Regions from separate parts of the Homo sapiens genome. Here region 2 is linked to region 1. The links are contacts of gene promoters, found by promoter capture Hi-C in human tissues and cell types (Jung and others, 2019). All regions are on one chromosome and are shown on one strand. The core of a region is centred on a gene start or on the middle of the fragment in contact, and the rest is flanking DNA. Distances in the headings are between cores, read along the strand shown.

Region 1 (4,026 bases), core at 1,055-3,554:
CTTTATGAAACAATTTCTGGACAGACTTTTTTCCCTCCAACTGACCACATGATTAGTAAAGATAGTGTACCACTTGTTTATTACTTATGGATATCTTTAGTAATGTTTCATTTAAAAAACAAAACAAAACTCTTCTTTCTCATCCATGTCTTGGGCAATCACAGATGCAAGAGTTGACATCTGTGAATATTTTCTGATTACTTACTAACTAGGAATATATAAGTTAAAAAAATTTTTTAAAGGAGAAAAGCCAAATAGTTCATGTTGACTTTGAAAGACTGATGACAATGATGTGGCAATTCTAAAGTACTTAGAGGTTTAACCCAAAATTTGTTTACGTCTTTGATTTTTAGTAAACACTGCACTGATAAACATGAGTTTGTTCAGATCAAGAGTATGTTGGCATTCTCTTAAGCATAGTTTGAAACCAGAGAGCTCAAGCATAAAACAGCTCTGACAAAGATAACCAGTCAAGCATAAAAATGGGAGTTGGTTGTGTCAGAATACATTAAGAGGCCGAAGGCTGTCTGGCAGACAGCTGTCTTGCCATCACTGAAGGTGACTATTACCACTAAAAGTTGTTTTTCGGATACAGTACTTGAAATTGCTGTCATCTTGTATTTAAAATGCTCCTTATTTATAAAGCGTCACATCCTTTTCTTATCTGAAGCCTCCTTCTTGGATAACCACAAACCTAAAAGCAGTCTAAAATTGTGCTGATGCTTTCCTACAAGCACAGGGAAACTCTTATATTGAATCTTTGTCTATTTGGAGTTGAGAATGTCTTTGGCTTTTATTTTAAATGCCTTCTTAAATATAGATCACTATTTTTAAAATGTAAACATCCAAAGGCATTCCCTCACACTTGGAGGAATGCTAAGGCAGGAGACATGCTTGTAGTAGTCACATTTCACTTTCCCAGACGGGTGCCACAAACGTTCCGCTCAGTTACTGCTTAGGAGGCAGCATTATTAAATGCCTCACGACTTAACGGTCAGCCTCCATGCTTCTTGCTAACCTACATTTCCAAAAGATCATCCGAGAAATCTGGCAAGCCACCGAAATGGTACTAGTAAACTGGATCCATCCAAAGCACTCCACAGTGCCCTGTGGGTGTGTTTCTCACTGTAAACTACTGGGTAAAGAATTTACATACAATTTTATCTCCAAACTCGATTTGTATCCTTTGTAGGTTAGTTCTCAGGAGTACCCACTCCAGCCCAGAAATAAGTCAACGTAGTATTTCCAAACTATCACTTCAAATGTCCACGGTCAAGGGCAGGAGGAGGAAGGAATAGTAACGGGAAAACTTGTCAGCGATTAGCCATCCATAAAAATGTTCTCCCAGCGCTCCTCCTTCCGATCACAAAGCTGGCGTCAGGCAGTCTCCTGTATCTGCTTCCCACCTCGCCCCCTCCCCTCTGCGGAGAGCTGGCACCGAGGGGCGGGCCAAGGAAAAGACAAACACCCCGGCTCCGACACAGTCCAAGCGCGAGCCCGGAGACACTTCAACAACATTCCTAACTTTTTTTCTCAGTTCGCATGCCTCAAAGGTAAACAAAGCAAAAAGCCTACGAAACAGAAGGCAAGTGAGGCCAATTCGGCGCTGGCGAGTTTAAAAGTGGCCCCCAAAGAGTCACAATGACGACCCCCGCCGCCCCCTCTGTCCGCTGTCCCCTATCTCCAGCTACAGCAAGCGACCCCTCAGGCGCCTATCCTGGTCCCTGCCCACGCCCCGGGCCCCAGCCCCGACCCGACCGCCGCCCCCGCCGCGGGTCGAACATCCCCTGACAGGTCCCGGGGCCCGCGGCGCGGGCGGATGCAGGCGCGAGGAAGGCGAGCTGCGCCGCGGCCAACTCCCCAGAGCAGTCCCCTCCGGCCCCGCGCCCACCCCACCCCACCCCACTCCACCCCAGACAGGCTCCACCAAAAAACCCGGGAACAACGACCGCCAAAAGCCAAGCCTCACGCCGAGGAGCCTCCCAGGCTGCCCCGAGGACGAACAACTTCGCCCTCCACTCAATGCGCTCACACGCACGCACACAAGCAGCGCGCGGCCGAGGAGGGCACGTCTTACCTGTCCCCGCCGTGCCACTCATCCCTCCCCCACCCAGGTCCGGCGCCCCCAACCCCGCCCCCGCCGTGGTCCCCCGGCCGCCCGCTCCGAGCGCCGCGCACTCACTGCCTGGCTGCGCGCGCCCAGCGCCTGCAGGGCCCGGCGGCGGCGGCGGGGACCGAGACAGCGGCTGCAGCAGCGGCGGCGGCGGCGGCGGCGGCGGCGGCCCCAGCCGGCGTCAGTCAGACTGGAGCCGCGAAGCCTCATCGCCCGTATTAGTGCGCCGACCTGGAAAGCGGCCAGGGAGCCCTGCTTGCGGCCCGCCCCCGCCCGCCGCCGCGCGCTCTGGCCGCTCCGGGAGCCGCAGAGGAGGGGGCTGCGCGGGCCCGGCGGGGGGCGGGAGCGAGACCGGCCCCACGGCCACGTGCGCGGAAACTCGCGGCGCGGGGGTGGCGGGGTAGTACTCCTCGCAGCGGCCTGCGGCTCGGTTCCCGCCTCTTCCCCACCCCCAGCCCCGCGCTGCCCTCTCGGTCCCCCTGCGCGACCCCAGGCTCGGCCCCTGCCCGGCCTGCCGGGGTGGCCCGGGGGTGGGGTGGGAGCCCTTTGTCTGCGTGGGTCGCCTCGCGTCTCTCTCTCCCACCCCACCTCTGAGATTTCTTGCCAGCACCTGGAGCCCGAAACCAGAAGAGTTGTCAGCCCAACAAGAATATAGGATCACCGGCCCATCAGTCTGGAGACCCTTCTGAGCTGCTGTTCCTCACATGTTTCTGGGCCCTGATAGTGACTCTCACTTGCCCTGTTTGTTCCTGATTTGCTTTTCGGAGTAAGGGGATCCTGTCCCCATGGACAGTGACAGAGCAACTGGGCCGCAATGGCATAGGCAGAAGAAAATCTAATCACTCTGGGGGTGAGTGGTGGTTAAAACGACTCATGTAATTATGTGGATTGTAATTTCCTTACACATATTTATTTGCTTAACAACCCAGCATGTGAGATATATTATCTAATCTAATAAAAGATACAAACTTATGGGCACACAGCAATGTTACTGTACAACTTTCTCGTCTCACGGCCTGGCTGTCCCCCAGGTAGCCTGCCTCTTAAAGTCACTGTGGACTCCTGGAACCCACTCAGAAACGCCACTTAGGAAGAACCACCTCTGATTCCCCATCAGCCCGTAGTTCCTCACAGAAAAGGCATTTGCTGCAGGGGTGAACGTGGAATAAAGCCACAGGGCAGTTTTCAGCTTGCTCCTGTGTGCAGGAAAGTCATACCTCCAGTTGGCCCCGATGGCGGCTCCGAAATGTAAAGCAAGGCCTTAAATTTAACTGCTTTTTCTAGTTCTCAAAGCACTGCACTTTCTTCATGGCAGATGCTATTTTTGCATTATTATACCGTTGTAGTTGAACGGTGATTTGTTTAAAACAACATTTGCAGCAGAACCTTAAATACCATGCCTTAACCTCAAAGTCTTCTTTCTACACTGGCCCAGATACCTCTGCACCCGGCTATGTGTTGGGTTTGAGATTGTCCTGGGTGAGAAACACCAGGAAACAGCGGGACCGGTAAGGGCTACAGATTATATATTAAGGATTAGGCTGGATGTGGACTTTATTGCCAGTAAACTAATTAGGTCCTCAGAATTGATACCTTGTGGCTCAAGTTTTTAAAAATTAAATTAAGAAAAGAAATGGCCCAATCACTATCTCAGTTTCCTTCTCGTATATGAGCATAATGCAGAGGACAAGATGCAGAGAAAGAAATTATAACCTCTGCAGCGCTGGCTCATGCTTCTGGCATGGAGTCTTTCTCAGTTCGCAGAATTCTCTTGACTCTTGGCAGGCCTTTGATTTAGAGTATGTCTAGTCTGCTCTTTTCTGTACGTTCTCATTTACATACCAGGATATTTCTGCACGATGATGACTTTTTCCTGCCTAAACATTAGTCTGTCACTGATATAATTCCTATCA
Region 2 (4,026 bases), core at 523-3,022, 460 kb before region 1:
CTAATTCAGTAAAACTGAATTATGCTTGAGGAAAACAAACTCATTGCAGATTATATAGATATGAATGCATATGTGTAAGCATAGAAAGATATAGATACATATATGGATATACATGTACATATGTCTTCATTTTATTCCTGGAATTAGAAATGTTTATCCTATGTAGTCAAGCCTCAGTATACAAGCCCATCTTCTCACTTAATAATCAGTGTTATTAATATAAATAAACCATTCAAAATTTGTGTGATAATATCATAAAAGTCATAATCATATTCTATTCCCAAACATTAGCTACTGCTATTTATACAACACATTGAATGATGTGACTGTTGGCCATGAACAATTTGTAACTTTACTAAAATGGATCTCCATTCTAATAAGCAGCTTTAAGGAGGAGTTTTATAACCTTAGGAGAGTGTTTTGGGGCAACAATTAATTTACTAAATATAAGCAATATATTTTTTTTCTTACATAATAGGAATCTTGTCACTTTAGGCAACCTGTTGGAAAAACAAGTTTTACTATTTTTGCAAGTCATCCATGAGGAGGAAAAGACAGATTGCTTAATCTGAAACTTTCAAAAGGATGAAATATAATAGTTAGAGCTACCTTAATACATGAAATATGAATAAGGGATCTCTGGGTTGGTACAAACTATTTTTAAGTCCTTCTATACCTACAAGAATAACAACCTTGCTTAATTTAAAACATTACACCCCCTGTTTTTCCTTGGTTTGAGAAAACATAAGCAGATTTGACTTCACATTTTTTCGACAAGAACATAGTTAGCTGATGGAAGGTGGGATGTGACATGTTAGTCAATGATGGGCCCAAAGCTAACTGTGAGATCATCAGTGTAGTTTTAAAATCAATTGGCAACACAGTCCCATGGTGAAGTCGTGTGATAATTTTCTCAGACACCTAATGTTTCAAAAAACGTCACGCTATGAATTTTGATTATGGTTGTAATCTAAACTGGCTCTCCAGTTTTAAAATGATTACATAAAAGCATTGATTTGGTGCCTAAAACACATTTTTGCTCAAGAAGCACATTTGGGTGAAATGAACAGTTTCTAAATGAGCAGCATACATTTCCTTCACTTTAGAAAATAATCAGTTAATATATTCTTCTCTTACGATGCTACCAATTCAAAGCTTTTATGCATTTGTATTTACATAAATATATCATCACCTAATTATTAATGCTGAATTAGCTGTGCTAGTTCATTTTCTGTGAGTGACCCCAATAATCTTAGCCTTAACAAATTTAGGGAGGAAGGAATGACTAAGGCATTAACATCCAAGTTCTGCAATGAGGCCTCCAGCATGCCCTTGTGTCTGTGTTGTTAGAGACTTTCAGTGAGAACAAGGAGTGCTTGTAATCCTTTCAGTTGTCTCTTACTTAATGTTTGCCCAGAGGCTGGGTTTAATCTGGGCGAGGGCTCCTGGGGTCTCAGTTTGTGTAACTTTTTTGAGGCAAGGGCAGCAAGGAAGAAGCATTCTACTAGGCAGGTTTAGACGATGTCCAAGCTTGTAAGTCACCTGTGATGTCCAAGCTTGTAAGTCACCTGGGGGACTATCAAAAGATTTTTATGATTCAGAGGTGCCAGCAGGCAAGATTCCAGGCCAATTTGGAGAAATGAGAATAAGAAAAGAAAAAAAGAAATCCCAGATGAAAATAATTCAAGCCAAAACTCATGAGAAGTCACGGGCACAGTTCAGGAATTCTGTTAAGATTGAATAATAGGTTGTTATTAAGCCTAATCTTAAGAAAAAGACTCGCAGAGAGATCCTGGTCTAATCTTCATTTTCAACTCATTCAGTCCCTAGACTTGTTGTCATCCAGTCCCTGAATTGTTGTCATTGTAGAATACCAGAATGATACTGCTGTAGAGGAAATGGTCACCAACTCCCTGAATCAACTGGGATTTTTCCATTTCCCAGGGGAGGTAAGAATGCAAAAAGGTGAGGAAAGGATCTGAGCCAGCAATATGTTACTAAATATTTAACAACTGGGCCGGGCGTGGTGGCTCATGCCTGTAATCCCAGCTGAGGCAGGCAGATCACCTGAGGTCAGGAGTTCGAGACCAGCCTGGCCAACATGGCAAAACCCCATCTCTACTAAAAAATACAAAAATTAGCTGGGCATGGTGGCAGGCTCGAGTAATCCCAGGTACTAGCGTGCCGAGGCATGAGAATCACTTGAACCTGGGAAGCGGAGGTTGCAGTGAGCCGAGATCATGCCACTGCACTCCAGCCTGGGTGACAGAGTGAGACTCCGTATCAAAAACAAAAAACTAACAAAAATTGACAACTGGCTCTCTGGGGGAAAAAAAAGTATGCCTATGTACATGTACATATGCTTATGAATTGTACTAATGTAAAGAATATGTAGCATACAACTTATAAATAGTAAAAATATAATATTCATATAGCTAATTGATTCTTACAGAACACTTCTGCTAATTTTTGCTGAAATTTTAAAATCTATAGCCAATCTACAGTTGCCATTGAGAAACAAATGTAGTTCTCACATGAATGTTAGTGGATATTTTGATTTAAGGCAATGAATGAGACTAAGTAAAATACCAAAGATGTATGTGGGAAATCACTTTTTGGTCATTGACTGGAATGCTGGAAGAATATTTCCTCAATTTTTTAACACTATTCACAATGCAATGGCCAGAGACATAACATATTTAAGAAGATTAATCTGCATTATTTACATTTTATCCATCACTTTCTTAAGTTTAAACAAGGAACTGGAAAACTTTTCCTGTAAAGGGCCAGATAGTAAATATTTTAGGCTCTACAGGCCATATGGTCTCTATCTCAACTATCTCTGTCTATACAATTCTGCCTCTGTAGCACACAAGCAACCCACAGACAGTATGTAAACCAATGAGCGTGACTGTATTCCAACAAAACTTTATTTATGAACACTGAAATTTGAATTTCATATAGTTTTCATAAAATATTATTCTTCTTTGAATTTTTTTCAACAATTAAAAAATATAAAAGCCACTTTAGCTCATAAGCCATACAAAAATGGGCAATGGGCTAGATTTGTTTTATGTGTTACAGTTTGCCATGTTCTCGTCTAATCAATCAACAAAACAATAAATAAATTCATAGCAGTTATCAACTTCTGTGATATAAATATTCTCACCATGGCTGATTTCAAGCTCTCAATGTGACATCATTGAATGCTGTGGAGAGATGTGGAGTAGCACGTCATTATACAGTATTTCCACCCTATGGATATAATAGATAAGAATAACCTCAAGAACACAGATAATATTAAAATGTAGTAAAAATAATTAAAATTATGAGTGTTGAGCATTTATTACCTTATTTCTAGTATAACTTAATTATTTGTAAGCTTATACAATTTTATTTGTTATTTCTATTTTTTATTTATTTTTGAGACAGAGTCTCCCTCTGTCGCCCAGGCTGGAGTGCAGTGGCGAGATCTCGGCTCATTGCAACCTCCATCTCCCAGGTTCTAAGCGATTCTCCTGCCTCAGCCGCCAGAATAGCTGGGATTACAGGAGCGCACCACCACGCCCGGCTAATTTTGTATTTTTAGTAGAGACGGCGTTTCACCATATTGGCCAGGCTGGTCTCGAACTCCTGACCTCAGGTGATCCACCCACCTTGGCCTCTCAAAGTGCTGGGATTACAGGCGTGAGCCAATGCACCTGGCCTACAATTTTATTTTTAATAATGGCTGTGTTCAACAACTGGCTGGCAAAATTCTCAGACGTTTAACAATTGACTCCTGAGAGTTAGTACAGGTTGTCTCCACCAAATCACAAAACTTTGCGCTTTTCTAGAGCATATTGCAGCACTTGACTCTGAGATTCCCACAGCAACACTAACTCTTCATCCACAGACATAGAATTGCCCTCTGGAGCTACCCACAAAGAGTGCCAGAGATCTTAGGCCCTAAGTCATCTCAGAAGCTTTTGCTATCTCTGTCTTCCACACAAAAGTGGGATGAGAAGGAGACCTTTATTGCCACAG

What was found. The method cuts DNA at HindIII sites, captures the fragments that hold promoters and counts their contacts. A contact is called where the count stands out against the background at its distance.
Region 2: a fragment that was not itself captured here is called in contact with the fragment with the promoter of SMAD9 in region 1 in 2 of the 25 tissues and cell types used here (dorsolateral prefrontal cortex and spleen).

What each region holds. Positions count from the first base shown.
Region 1 is chr13:36,917,934-36,921,959 of GRCh38, forward strand. SMAD9 (SMAD family member 9) reads right to left here and starts at 2,305. Exons shown (of 7, transcript NM_001127217.3): 1 at 2,183-2,305. RefSeq lists silencers at 2,216-2,285, 2,396-2,445. The HindIII fragment of the contact is 20,741 bases long and covers 1-4,026 here.
Region 2 is chr13:36,455,379-36,459,404 of GRCh38, forward strand. No RefSeq gene overlaps it. Among named protein-coding and RNA genes, the nearest start is that of CCNA1, 25 kb to the left of the region's middle. The HindIII fragment of the contact is 3,801 bases long and covers 1-3,673 here.